3 separate regions of the Homo sapiens genome follow, and all the other regions are linked to region 1. The links are contacts of gene promoters, found by promoter capture Hi-C in human tissues and cell types (Jung and others, 2019). All regions are on one chromosome and are shown on one strand. The core of a region is centred on a gene start or on the middle of the fragment in contact, and the rest is flanking DNA. Distances in the headings are between cores, read along the strand shown.

Evidence for each region. Contacts are between HindIII fragments. The study calls those that stand out against the background at their distance.
Region 2: a contact is called between a fragment that was not itself captured here and the fragment with the promoter of PABPN1 in region 1, in 1 of the 25 tissues and cell types used here (H1 embryonic stem cells).
Region 3: a contact is called between a fragment that was not itself captured here and the fragment with the promoter of PABPN1 in region 1, in 1 of the 25 tissues and cell types used here (thymus).

Annotation. Positions count from the first base shown.
Region 1 is chr14:23,318,828-23,323,627 of GRCh38, forward strand. PABPN1 (poly(A) binding protein nuclear 1) reads left to right here and starts at 2,630. Exons shown (of 7, transcript NM_004643.4): 1 at 2,630-2,993; 2 at 3,354-3,468; 3 at 4,172-4,239; 4 at 4,550-4,656. The coding sequence starts at 2,643. It overlaps BCL2L2-PABPN1 (BCL2L2-PABPN1 readthrough), which reads left to right. Exons shown (of 8, transcript NM_001387346.1): 4 at 3,354-3,468; 5 at 4,172-4,239; 6 at 4,550-4,656. RefSeq lists enhancers at 1,721-2,371, 2,060-2,129, 2,383-3,194, 3,195-4,004 and silencers at 2,530-2,959, 3,020-3,089. The HindIII fragment of the contact is 10,317 bases long and covers 1-4,800 here.
Region 2 is chr14:22,905,846-22,910,645 of GRCh38, forward strand. RBM23 (RNA binding motif protein 23) reads right to left here. Exons shown (of 14, transcript NM_001077351.2): 3 at 3,638-3,750; 4 at 2,488-2,535; 5 at 350-523. Among named protein-coding and RNA genes, the nearest start is that of RBM23, 11 kb to the right of the region's middle. The HindIII fragment of the contact is 8,113 bases long and covers 1-4,800 here.
Region 3 is chr14:22,983,778-22,988,577 of GRCh38, forward strand. C14orf93 (chromosome 14 open reading frame 93) reads right to left here. Exons shown (of 7, transcript NM_021944.4): 6 at 4,126-4,238; 7 at 2,117-3,857. The coding sequence ends at 3,438. AJUBA-DT (AJUBA divergent transcript) reads left to right here and starts at 547. Exons shown (of 3, transcript XR_007064074.1): 1 at 547-1,043. RefSeq lists a silencer at 2,954-3,063. The HindIII fragment of the contact is 3,415 bases long and covers 312-3,726 here.

The sequences.
Region 1 (4,800 bases), core at 1,380-3,879:
TAAAAAAAATCAGATATAGTTGTAATTATATATTATGTACAATTTTACATTCTTCTTTGGCTTAACAAAATTATTTTCGCATGTTTGTCATACTATGTAACCCTTTTAAGAGATGCATAATAATTTTTTTTGGATATAATTATAGTTTGCTTAAACTTTTGTTTATTGTTGGAATTTAGTCTTGCCATTTTTCACACATAATTTTTATGTATTAAAGCAGGCCTTATAGTAGTAGTGATCTGAGCTTTGAAAGCTGGCTTTGAATTCCCTGCACATTATTATATATATTACATAATATATATTATGTATAATATATATATAATTTTTATTTTTTCCTTTGAGACAGAGTCTTGCTGTTGCCCAGGCGATTCTCCTGCCTCAGCCTCCCGAGCAGCTGGGTTTACAGGCATGTACCACCATGCCCAGCTAATTTTTGTATTTTTAGTAGAGATGGGGTTTCGCCATGTTGGCCAGGCTGGTCTGAAACTCCTGGGCTCAGGTGATCCTCCCGCCACAGCCTCCCAAAGAGCTGGGATAACAGGTGTGAGCCACCACGCCCAGCCAGCCCTGCACACTTCTAATTAGTCCAATGACTTAGGCAAGTTTCTTCATTTCATTAAGCCTTTTTCTTTTTCCCTAAAAAAGGTTATGGTTTTGGAAATACTTTCCCCGTGGGGTTGTTGTGAGAGTCCAGTGAAATAATAAGGAGTGGTGCTTATTACAAAATCAAACGCTCAACAAAAATAGGATTCAAAGCCATTTTTAAAAATCACATTTCCTTTTGTTGGCTTGATTAAATTGGGTACCAATAAGATTAACAAATCTTGATTAGGTTAAGATTAGTATAAAAGACCTTTCTTCCAGGGTATTCAATCATTTAGAGCTTGTCTTCGGTGCTCAACTTTAGTTATCCCAGATCACTGAAGCTGAGATGGCTGATGAAGTAATTTGCAGTGAAATTTTAAGCGACTGTGACTCTGCTGCAAGTTCCCCAGATCTTGAGGTAAGGAATTGTGAGAAAAAGTGGGGGTGAGGGGAATAGTGGGGTATAATGAGTCACTTGATTTTTTGGTTTGCTAATGAGGATCTTCTCTTGTCCAAATCCCTCGGCCAACCATGTTTGTTTAACTTTTTGGTTGGGCTATATGTATCTTTCGAACTGTAGGTTAGTGTGCCCACAAAAATTTCTCTTGCAAACGTACACTGCCATTCCTTTCTTTTTAATAAATGTGTAGGACTGCTACCAAAATATGGCAGTCCTGCCTTCCAGGGCTAGGTCTCATTGGTACTTGGGGTGCAGGGGTGTAGTGGGAACCTGCCAGGAGAAATTCCTCTGGGATCTTGGGGGCTTGAGGGCTTAAATGAAGGGTGGCACCCAAATCCCCAATCAATGCCTGTTCAATCAACAAACATCTAACAGGACATTATGTGGTAGGCATATTGCCAGGCCGTGGAGATGCGAATATAAATAGGAACCGGCCCCTCATCTGCAGGCGCTCACAACCTAGTTAGGAAACAGTAAAACAATTAAGCGCGCCGTGGAGATAGGCCCACTTGTCCTGGGAAATGAGGGGAAGCTGGGGTTTGCAGTGGTTTGATTGAAGGGGGACTACATGTTAGAGGCACAGACTGGGTGCAGGTACACCCAAAGGAACGAGAAGAGTGGAAGGAAACAACATCCACAAAGTAACCACATGCTGGCGTATCGAAGGCCGTGATTTACGGTTTTGAGACTTTACCTCGCCAGCAAAGGGGGGCCAGTCTGTTAGCGGTGCAGATTGGAGGGGTGACATTGGAAGCTGTCCAGGAAAAAGAAAATGGAACTGGGGAGCAGAAGGCCTACGCAAGAGGGCGGGACAGACAGGACTTGTGACTAGTAGCTCTGGACTGAGGAATCCTCCCTGCTTTCTGGTGCGGGAGAGCTAGTGGATGATGGTGCCAATAACCTGGATGGGGAAAGTAAGCTCCCTCCTGGAATGCTTCATTCACAACCTCCATTTTCAGCAACATCCCATCTACTGGTGCTTCCTGGTCGAGATACAAGTTTCCTGAAACTGCTGCTCTGTTTTGGGCCTCACCCGGCCAACAGCTCACTAGCTGGCAAGCAGTAGTATCAAGATGGCGGCCCCCTAGGACTGGCTAGTCATGTGACCTCGGGTTTCCCAAGTTTGAAGCCCGGCAGTCCTTTCGGGGGCAAGGTTCACCTGTCACGAAACGAGTGTCACCCCTTCGACTCTCGCAAGCCAATCGGCATCTGAGACTGGGCCACTGCGGTGAGGCGATCGGAAGATTGGTCCTTTCCAGTCGCCTAGCTAGGGCCAATCACGGAGCGTCCCATACTTCGCGGGCCCGCCCGTAGGCCGGGGAGAAGCAGGAATATCGTCACAGCGTGGCGGTATTATTACCTAAGGACTCGATAGGAGGTGGGACGCGTGTTGATTGACAGGCAGATTTCCCCTACCGGGATTTGAGAATTTGGCGCAGTGCCCCGCCTTAGAGGTGGGGCCTTATTTGATTGCCAAGTAATATTCCCCAATGGAGTACTAGCTCATGGTGACGGGCAGGCAGCTTGACTAATGAGTCCTCGGCGTGGCCGGCGCAGCTCTCCAATCGCCGGGCGGCGGGCCCCAGTCTGAGCGGCGATGGCGGCGGCGGCGGCGGCGGCAGCAGCAGCGGGGGCTGCGGGCGGTCGGGGCTCCGGGCCGGGGCGGCGGCGCCATCTTGTGCCCGGGGCCGGTGGGGAGGCCGGGGAGGGGGCCCCGGGGGGCGCAGGGGACTACGGGAACGGCCTGGAGTCTGAGGAACTGGAGCCTGAGGAGCTGCTGCTGGAGCCCGAGCCGGAGCCCGAGCCCGAAGAGGAGCCGCCCCGGCCCCGCGCCCCCCCGGGAGCTCCGGGCCCTGGGCCTGGTTCGGGAGCCCCCGGCAGCCAAGAGGAGGAGGAGGAGCCGGGACTGGTCGAGGGTGACCCGGGGGACGGCGCCATTGAGGACCCGGTGAGGGAAGGAGGGCGAGCGAGCAGGCCGGCGGCTGGCCGGCCGGGTCACTGGAGGCCCAGAGCTCGGGCGAGCGGGTGGCAGGCGGGGGGTGGGGTTGGGCGGGGAATAACGTGGCTGGGGCCGGGTCGGGCCGGGGATGGGTCAGCGATCACTACAAGGGGCCCGACTGGCTTGATTCGGGCGTCACGGTTGCCTAGTGTTGTTCTAGAGAGGGTAGCTTTTCTTTTATCACGACCCTCGCATGGGGCGAGGGAAATGGCCGAGCATGGCTGAGGCCGCGCTCTGGCCGAGAGCAGGGCACAGCCCCTGCGTTGGTTCCTCTTAAGCTGTCCTCCATACCCTCCCCACTTATATTAGGAGCTGGAAGCTATCAAAGCTCGAGTCAGGGAGATGGAGGAAGAAGCTGAGAAGCTAAAGGAGCTACAGAACGAGGTAGAGAAGCAGATGAATATGAGTCCACCTCCAGGCAATGGTGAGTAACTGGCGGTTGCACGCGGAGCCCGGGTTCTCGGGTTGGAAGGGTTGTGGGGAGGATGGGGAATGTGGGGTTAGATACTCGGCACCCTGGAGCTGCTTGTCTGAGCTATTATGACTGTGCCGCGGTCATAGTCCGTTGTGTGTTCCTCTGACCTTTGTGAGGCAGAACGTATATTTTGGTGGTGGTAGCCTTGTGCCTCCCTTTGTGCCTGTTATAATTGTGTTGCTCTTTGTTCTTAGTCTACGTCTATCTTTCTTTGTAGAGGTTGCGTGCTCGCATTTGACCTTCAAATCTAATAGTTTTTCCTCCAATTGGAGACGCTTTAGGATTCTAAGAGAAAGCAAGCTGCAAGGGGTTTCCCCTTTAATCTAGAAATGTGGAGTCTCAGCCCACTTAATTTTGCTCACTCTTAAAAGCATTTCAACCAAAGCCATTCATTAGGGATTTGATTTGGAGGCAGGAGGGATTCCTATACTGTTTTAAGTGTGTATTAATTCTTTCAATTTATTGAATATTTAGTGAGTACCTGCTATGCACTAGGCACTATTCTCGGTTGTGGGTACAGCAGGGAACAGCACAGACCAAAATCTTTGCCTTCACTGAGCTTATGGGATAGTGCTGGTGGTGGAAGTGCAACATATTGGTCAAGTAGAAAACAAGTGTGTGGTTTTTGTAAAAAATTATTTTTTCCTGATAGCTGGCCCGGTGATCATGTCCATTGAGGAGAAGATGGAGGCTGATGCCCGTTCCATCTATGTTGGCAATGTACGTACTGGGGCTCTGACTGGGGTTGGGGGCAAGTTCTTCTTTTGGGGAATTATTTAATAGTCCTGAAAGGAACATCTCCGGGATAGATGTGGTTTTGGGTGTGGAGGGAGTGTGGGAAGGAGGTTAAAGGTAATGGAATGATCAGTAATCAGCAAAGGCTCTGGGTTTGGAAGGAAAAGAGATTAATTCCTCAAATTACCAGATTTCATGTGCTTTGGTGTATGATGGCCCAGACCAAAGGCTCGGGAGGGTTCCTTTTGAGACAGGAATTTGCCTGGTGCCTGTGAAATTTTTCTCCTCTCATCAGGTGGACTATGGTGCAACAGCAGAAGAGCTGGAAGCTCACTTTCATGGCTGTGGTTCAGTCAACCGTGTTACCATACTGTGTGACAAATTTAGTGGCCATCCCAAAGGGTAAGTAAAGGGGAGTAAGTTGAGATAATTTAAATTACAGTGTACAAATAGATAAATTATGTTTTATATTGAGCAGTAAGTTATTTGGTGTTAACACAGGTGATCTGTGTCATTTAAGATCATGGCATTAATGTTGATATATCA
Region 2 (4,800 bases), core at 670-3,169, 410 kb before region 1:
TCAAGCAATCCTCCCACCTCAGCCTCCTTGTGTGGCTAGGATTACAGACACACATGACCATATCTAGCTCATTTTTGCATTTTTTGTAGAACCAGGGTTTCGCCATGTTGTCCTGGCTGGTCTTGAATTCCTGAGCCCAAGTGATCTTCTGGCCTCAGTCTCCCAAAGTGCTGGGATTACAGGCATGAGCCACCACACCAGTAAATTTTGAATACCAACCCTTTCTGTGCCTGAGTATCCTGCCAATCACAATGTGTTATAATAAGCACCCTCAAGCAGGGTTCATAGTGCATTTGTTGTTTTATCCAGATTATTATACAAAAGTGAATCTATTAGCAAAAAGTGATACCCAGTGGCAAGTGGAGGACTCCTGTAATGCACACGATCCTCACGACGATGGTCCCGACTTCGCGACTCACTACCATGTCGACGATCCCAGCTACGGCTACGGTGACGACACTGCCGACCTGGACTTCGGCTCCGACTATTTCTCCGTCTATACCGATCCCGATCTCGACTACGACTACAGAGGGAAACAACTACAGTCATGCCCACATCATGTTTAGGCCAACAACCAAGTGCATATACAACAGTGGTCCCATAAGATTATAACGGTGCTGAGAAGTTCGTATAACCTAGTGATGTTACAGCCACTGTAATGTCGTAATGTATTACTTATGTGTTTGTGGTGATACTGGTGTAAACCAAACTATTACCTACTGCACTCCCAGTTGTATAAAAATACAGCACATCCAATTATGTACAAAGTGAATCTCATGAAGATAGAAAGACTAGTGTTTACTAGAGGCTGGGAAGGATGGAAGGATGGAAGGATGGCGGCTGTGGGTGGAATGAACAGAAGTAGATGAATGGATACAAATATGTCATTTAATAGAAAAAATAAGACCCAGGGCTGGGCGCGGTGGCTCACGCCTGTAATCCCAGCACTTTGGGAGGCCAAGGCGGGCAGATCACCTGAGGTCGAGAGTTCGAGACCAGCCTGACCAACATGGAGAAACTCCGTCTCTACTAAAAACACAAAATTAGACCAGGCACGGTGGCTCACGCCTGTAATCCCAGCACTTTGGGAGACCAAAATGGGTGGATCACTTGAGATCAGGAATTCCAGACCAGTCTGGCCAACATGGTGAAACCCCATCTCTACCAGAAATACAAAAATTAGCCAGGTGTGGTGGTGCGCAACTGTAATCCCAGCTACTCAGGAGGCTGAGGCAGGAGAACTTCTTAAACCTGGGAGGCGGAGGTTGCAGTGAGCCGACGTCGCGCCACTGCACTCCATCCTGGGCAACAGAGTGAGACTCTGTCTCAAAAAACAAACCAAAAAAATTAGCCAGGCATGGTGGCACACGCCTGTAATCCCAGCTATTCAGGAGGCTGAGGCAGGAGAATCACTTGAACCTGGGAGGCAGAGGTTGCGGTGAGCCAAGATCACGCCATTGCATTCCAGCCTGGGCAACAAAAGCGAAACTCGGTCTCAAAAAAAAAAGAAAAAATAAGACCCAGTGTTCAACAAATCAGTAGGGTTATTACTACAGTGTACAATAATCTATTATACATTTCAAAATAGCTAGTAGAGAATAATTTGAATGTTTCCTAGCATCATGAAAAGATAAACATTTAGGTCAAGGATAACTCAAGTACACTGATTTGATCTTTACAAATTATATGTATTAAATTTCACACATACCAGAAACTACATACAATATGTATCAATTAAAAATTGTTTAAAAATAAAACAATTACGTACAGTATATACTTCACGATAAAAAGTAATGATGTCACTGATTCATGTATTTACTATATTTATCATTCTAGAATATATTACTTCTACTTCGGTTAACTATAAAACAGCCTTAGGCTGGTCCTTCAGAAGGTGCTCCTAAAGAAAGCACTGTTACAGCAGAGTACAACTCTATGTGTATTAATGCCCTTGAAGACCTTCCAGTGGGACAAGATGTGGAGGTGAAAGACCCTCTGCAGGCCTAGGCTCATGTGTCTTTGTGTCGTAGTTTTCAACAATAACAATAATGTTTAAAAAGTAAAAGACAAAAAAATTTAAAAATAGAAAAAAGCTTATAGAATAAGGACATAAAGAAAACTTGTAGAGTTGTACAATGTGTTTGTGTTTTAAGCTAAATGTTTCAATTTTTTATTTTTATTTTTATTTTTTTTGAGACAGGTTCTCCATCTGTTGCCCAGGCAGGAGTTTAGTGCTGCAATCTCGGCTCACTGCAACCTCGAACTCCTGGGCCCAAGCAATCCTCCAGCCTTAGCCTCCCAAGTAGCTGGGAGTACAAACATGTACTACTACACCTGGGTAATTTTTAAATTTTTTGTAGAGACAGGATTTTGCTATGTTGCCCAGGCTGGTTTTGAACTCCTGGCCTGAAGTGATCCTCCCGCCTTGGCTTCCAAAGTGCTAGGATTAAAGATACGAGCCACTGTGCCTGGCCCAGAATTACTGACCTGCGCTTTCTATCCCTGCTTTTATTATGGCTCCGACTCCTCTTCTTCCTGTGAAAGAGAGTACATTCTTCTTTTTTTTTTTTTAATTTTGAGAAAGAATCTCGCTCTGTCGTGCAGTGGTGCAATCTTGGCTCACTGCAACCTCCGCCTTCCAGGTTCAAGCGATCCTCATGCCTTAGCCTCCTGAGTAGCTGGGATTACAGGCATGTACCATCATGCCCAGCTAATTTTTTATATTTTTAGTAGAGACAAGGTTTCGCTATGTTGGCCAGGTTCATCTTGAACCCCTGGCCTCAAGTGATCCACCTGCCTCAGCCTCCCAAAGTGCTGGGATTACATGCATGAGCCCCGCGTGAGCACCGCGCCAGGTCAGGAGTGTAAATTCTTAAAGAGAAGGTTTCGTTATTGCTGCCAAAGAAAAGGAATTACAGTAAGGCCAGAATGAAACAGAAAGCATGAAAAAACCAAAGACCCGAAGATGATCCAGCAGTGGTTCACAGCAATTGCACAATACCAACTTACAGCCCTGAAAGCTGTCAGGCATCTGAAGAGGCCATTTTTCCCCCTAATGCGAAGCAAAACCTGGTGTTTCCAAATCAGGGGTCCTCTTGCTATTTTTTTTTTTTTTGAGACAGAGTCTCACTCTGTTTCCCAGGCTGGAGTGCGATGGTGCGACCTCGGCTCACTACAACCTCTGCCTCCCATGTTCAAGCAATTCTCCTGCCTCAGCCTCCTGAGTAGCTGGGATTACAGGAGCCTGCCACCGCGCCCAGCTAATTTTTGTATTTTTAGTAGAGACGGGGTTTCACCATGTTGGTCAATCTGGTCTCGAACTCCTGACCTCAGGTGATCCACCCACCTCGGCCTCCCAAAGTGCTGGGATTACAGGTGTGAGCCACCACGCCCAGCCCCTCTTGGTATTTTATTCAAATGAAGTATATTGATGCTAGGACTAATCCACAAATCTACACTGGAAAATGAAGACTAGATAATTAAATCAAGTCACCATTATTCTCATGACCTAGGTGGAGCCATTACTAACAGTCAGCAGTCTTAACAGAAACAATCTCCCTATTCTGGTTATTTTTCCAATGGACAAAACTGTTTCCCTTCCCCAAGTTGCCAACCCATTTCTTCCTCCCACACTCACTTGCTTGTCTCCCCGATGGTGCTGCTTCCACTGGTCTCATTGCCACTGTTGCTGGTGCTGCTGGTGGTATTGCTAGGATAATCCTTTTTAACTTCTTTCCTTTGTTGCTCATCCTGAGGCATTCACCAGGAAAATGTCACAAGGTATAAGGTGGCAGACACACAGATTCCAATGGGCAAAGGGAACAAAGGTGGACAAGGAATAAATCAAACCACTTGATTATCTAGCCAGATTTTCAGCACCCTTATTTCCTAACAAAGGGAGTAAGAAAGGAATCAAGGAAACTACCTAAAAGGAAGAGATCAGCATGACAGATTTTGATGTCAAACTTCAGTTACCCAACATCTGCTCCACTAACATTTCCCAGGAGAGTTACAAATTGGTGCTAGGCTGGGGGCAGTGGCTCACGCCTGTAATCCCAGCACTTTTAAAGGCTGAGGCAGGCGGATCAATTGAGGCCAGGAGTTTGAGACCAGCCTCGCCGACATGTCGAAACCCCATCTCTACTAAAAATACAAAAATTAGCCAGGCATAGTGGCACACGCCTGTAGTCCCAGCTACTTGGGAGGCTGAGGCAGGAGAATCATTTGAATCTGGGAGGCAAAGGTTGCAGTAACTGGGATTGTACCACTGCACTCCAGCCTGGGCAGCCTAGTGAGACTCTGTCTCAAAAAAAAAAAAAAAAAAAAAAAAAAGAGGCTGGGCGCAGTGGCTCACACCTATAATCCCAGCACTTTGGGAGGCCAAGGCAGGCGGGTCACCTGAGGTCAGGAGTTCCAGACCAGCCTGACCAACATGGAGAAACCATCTCCACTAAAAAGACAAAATTAGCCAGGGGTGGTGGCACATGCCTGTAATCCCAGCTACTTGGGAGGCAGGAGAATCGCCTGAACCCGGAGGCAGAGGTTGTGGTGAGCTGAGAACGCGCCACTGCACTCCAGCCTGGGCAATGAGTGAAACTTCATCTCAAAAAAAAAAAAAAAAAAAAAAAAAGAAAGGAAAAAAGAAAGCGGTGGGGGGGAAAGGAAGGGAGAAGGAGGGAGGGATGGGAGGAGAGGGCAGAGGGAGGGAAAAGCAAGCAAGCAAGCAAGCAAATTGCTGTTAAGTGGGCCAGGTGCAGTGGCTCACTCCTGTAATCCCAGCACTTTGGGAGGCCAAGGCAG
Region 3 (4,800 bases), core at 769-3,268, 340 kb before region 1:
CGGGCGGATCACTTGAAGTCAAGAGTTCAGACCAGCCTGGCCAACATGGTGAAGCCCTATCTCTACTAAAAATACAAAAATTAGCCAGGCGTGGTGGCGCACGCCTATAGTCCCAGCCACTCGAGAGGCTGAGGCGGGAGAATCGCTTGAACCCGGGAGACAGAGGTTGCAGTGAGCCAATATCACGGCCACTGCACTCCAGCCTGGGCGACAGAGCAAGACTCCGTCTCAAAAAAATTCTCAAAAATAAATAATAATTTTTTTTAAAGAAACCCTAGATGAAGCTAAACATACCTAATTAAATACCAGCCAACGGCCGGGAGCGGTGGCTCACGCCTGTAATCCCAGCACTTTGGAAGGCAGAGGCGGCGGGATCACGAGGTCAGGAGTTTGCAACCAGCCTGGCCAGTATGGTGAAACCCCGTCTCTACTAAGAATACAAAAATTAGCCGGTGTGGTGGCGTGCACCTGTAGTCCCAGCTACTTGGGAGGCTGAGGCAGAAGAATCGCGTGAACCCAGGAGGCGGAGGTTGCAGAGAGCCGAGATTGTGCCATTGCACTCAGGCCTGGGCGATAGAGGGAGATTCCGTCTCAAAAAAATTTTTTAAAAACCAGCCAACTACTTTTGCCCAGACTAAAACATCAGGGGCAAGGGGTGGAGGAAGTAGAATGGAGAAGGAAAATGACTCCTTTGTATTTAGATAGTAAATGAGTATGAAAATTATATGCAAACAAGTCATGCATATTATTTTCATCTCAACATTTTGAACACCTTTTATAATCTTAGTGTAGCCTTAGGGAATGTGGAAAGAAACGAGGTTAATATCTTTTGGGAAATTAATTTGTGCCAAACTATTTGGCTTCTTCGTCCTAGTTGCATTGTCTCCCTGACCTCATCTCCCCTGAGAATCAGCCTCTGTTTCCCTGGTCAAGGCCACGGCTTTTCTCTGATCCTGAGGAGAGTTTCCTACCAGAGTGGAAGCAGGGAGGACTGAAAGCACTAGGAACAGAGGGGAGCTATCGGATTGCATCTAGAACCTGCTGTGAGCAACATCTTCAGAATTAACCATAATGTGTTCCCTCCTTTCCTGTGTCCAGATGAGGAAGGAGAACTTTGATTCTTCCTTCCAATTACATCCAAAATATCCACACAACTACTAATATTTGGAAGCTTTGATCCTTTGGGGTGAGGATGCGAGAGGAAATCTTATGAAATGTTGGGAGGCCATTAAAGGAGGCCCATGCAAGAGTTGGTGGTAGCAATGGGCACAACTGGGATGAACAGCCTGTGTTTTCAAGGGATAACTGGAAGCAGAGATGAGTGAAGGGGAAGAAGTAGAAGACGCATATGCTAATAGGGCATGCTCCAATAGTGCTCATGACCTCAGGTGGCCTCTCCACAGTCTAAACTGGAGCTGGGATCTCCAAAGGCCCTCTTCGTTCCCAAGACTTTAATTATAATCTGTATATGCAGGTGACTCCCTAATCCATATTTCCAGCCCAGTCTTTCTTGGAATTAAAAACTCAACTAACTACTAGCATCTCCAATGGCTGTCTCAGAAGCACCCAATATCCTAAACTGATCTCATCTTCTCTGCCTCATGAAACTGGCTCCTCTAACATTCTCTGAGTAAATGGCACAATCCTGTTAGCTGCTTAAACTAGAAATCTGAGCGTCAACCCTATGTCCTCCTTCTCCCTTAACCTCAAATCCAACCAAGTCCTATCAATCACCAAGTTCTATTAATTCTGCTTCCTAAACATCTTCCAAATCTGTCCTCCCCTCATCACCACTATATATGTCAAGTCACCGTCTTTCCTCTCCGAAACCAATGCAAAAGTCTCCTGGCCAAGGCTTGCTCCCTGCAATCCATCTTATACCCTGAGGTCAAGTGATTTTTTTCAGTACAGAAGCTTTACGACTTACAATGGAGTTATGTCTGAATAAACCCATCCATTATAAATTGAAAATATCGTAAGGCAGAAGTGCTTCTTCAACTTCACCATATTTTCAGCTTAAAATGGGTTTATCTGATATAACTGCATCATAAGGTGAGGAGCATACTGAATCATTTCGCACCATCGTAAAGTTGAAAAATCCTAAGTCGAACCATCGTTGAGTTGGGGACTGCCTGTAGGCAAAACCTGTCGTTTTATTTCCCTGCTAAAACAAACTTTCAATGATTTCTCACTGCCCTTGGGTTGAAGTCTGTACTCTGTATTATGAGGTCTGTCTCACTCTCCAGCCTCTCCTCTAGCATTATCCCTTCCCCAAAAGTCTGCAGTAGAACTGGACCTTGTCTGTACTCTCTCTTGCCCCTGGACTTTTGTACCTGCAGTTCCCTGTTTGGAACACTCTCTTAGCCTCCCCTTTCCTTCTGGTTAACTCTTCCCCAGTTTAGACATTACACCCTCTCAGAAGAAGCCTTTCCAGACTGCAAGAGTAGGTTAGCTACCCCTGCTGTATATTGCCATAGTGCACTACACTCCACCATGGTCACCCTTATCACAGTTCATTTCATTGCCTACTCCACTGCCTGGCTTCCTGACTAAACTAAAAAAATCTCTGAACAGCATCCAACCTTATCAACAATGTATCCATAGCACAGTACCTGACACCTAGTAAAGCGATCAATGTTTGTTATAAGACTGAATAAATGTAAAGCCATTTTTGCTTTTCAATCCATCCAAAATGCACACCCCTTCCTCAAAATACAGCTTGGCTGACAGGACCAAGAAACAGCTACAAAGCTGTGTATTTTGCTTGGTCACATAGTGAGAGAGAGGCTGCCGGTGAGACACGGGAACTCTTTAAGCCTTAATTTCCTCATCTGTAAGATAGGAATAGTAAAATTTTCCTCATGTAATTCAATAAACAATAGCTATTATATCAGGAACCCAATTCCCCAATAGTGATAGAACTTGTGTTCCCTTGGTCAGAAGACTCAAGCTCATGACTGAAACTGCCCACCAGGTGGCGGTATTAACCTGCACTGGTCATGTTCGGTTTCCACTGCAGAGCAAGACAAGTAGTCACAGGGAAGCAAAAGGTACAACCTGGGCTGCTTCCTCAGAGCTTTGGGTGGAACTGGGCAGGGGCAGAAACAACTCAGAGACAGGGCATATGTCAAGAAGGCCTCATGTTTCTTGGACCCATCCTCCTCATTTTCTCATCCCAGGCTTCTCCGAGATACTGTTTATGCTGAGGAATAAGCATATTCTGGCTTACTGTTCACAGTGGAGGGAGTTTCTCCCCTTCTAGATAAGTTTTTATCCCACCAGTGTTCTGCTTCCCCAGTAGAGACTGTGTTAAGAAAAGAGGCAAATTTGCTTTCTCAGACTGCACAGAGCATCTCATTATTTTGTGAAGCCCCATGGCCACCTATTTCTGAGACATGGGGCATGGCGGAAGCCAGAGTTATTCTTGGCTGTAGATTTTATTCATCCTTTTCCACCTTGATTTCAATGAATGAGTTCAAGTCAGGACAGCAGGTTTTGTGGGGTTGGTCAAAAGATGGGGAGCCAGGTGCATTCTCATCCCCTCCCTCATCTTCCTCTTCTTGGAAATTAGGATTGTAAAGTTCTGGTGGAAGGAGCTGGGCTTCAGCAGAAGGCAGTCTGTCTGAGGGAGGCCCATACACACGGTTGGCTTTGGTGCCATGCTTAGAGTTAGCATCCAGGTGGTAGCAGAGCTCTGTGAGGCGCTGGGCCCGGAAACGGGGAGGGCGGGCCACCCACACACCTGGCTCGTTAAGACTGTCCTCTTCATCTGACATCAGTTCCTCTGTCACATCATTCCACAGACGTTGGTCCTCAGGTCCAAAATGCCTCATGATACTGGATCGGTTGGCAAAAAGCTAAGGCAGGAACCCAGGAGATAGATTAGGAAGGTAAACATTCTATGGATTAGATTTGGGGAAAAGGTTTGGTGGGGAAGGCTGTGTAAAATCTGTGCCTAAGTGAACCCAGTCCCCAAGTCAGATCTTAGCATTGGCTCACTGTTCTTCTCTATCTTCCTACATTCCTGGCTCTCAACCCTATTCTCATATGCCATGTCCTCTGGCCCTTCCCACTTAGGAAAGGGTTTAGAGTTTAGTATCTTGAAAGAAAGGCCTAGAAACCTACCCGATATCGGCGACTTCGAAGTTTCTTCTCCTCTTTTTCCTTCAGGCCTTTAAAGGGGTTCAGGGAGTTGCGGTACTCACGCCTCTTAGTAAGGAAGTAGGCCACACAGGCTCCTGGCGGGGAGGGAAGGAAGGGAGCAAGAAGGAGGGTCCTCTGAGTAGTGGTCCCCAGCCCGTTTTTCTGCCCTAACACTATTGAATGGGAGGTTGGCGATCACTACTTAGATGAGGGCTTTTTTTTTTTTTTTTGAGATGTAGTTTCACTCTTGTTGCCCAGGCTGGAGTGCAATGGCACAATCTCGGCTTACCACAACCTCCGCCTCCTGGGTTCAAGCGATTCTCCTGCCTCAGCCTCCCGAGTAGCTGGGATTACAGGCATGTGCCACCACATCCAGCTCTTTTTAGTAGAGATGGGGTTTCTCCATGTTGGTCAGGCTGGTCTCAAACTACTGACCTCAGGTGATCCACCTGCCTTGGCCTCCCAAAGAGCTGGGATTACAGGCGTGAGCAGCCGTGCCTGGCCTAGATGCTGGGCTTTCTTGGCATAGGCATTAGCATCTTCACTCCTCTTTGGTTAGGATTCTTTTTATTTATTTATTTTATTATGATTTTGTTATGAGACAGGGTCTCGCTCTGTCACCCAGGCTTGAGGGCAGTGGCATGGTCATGCATGCTC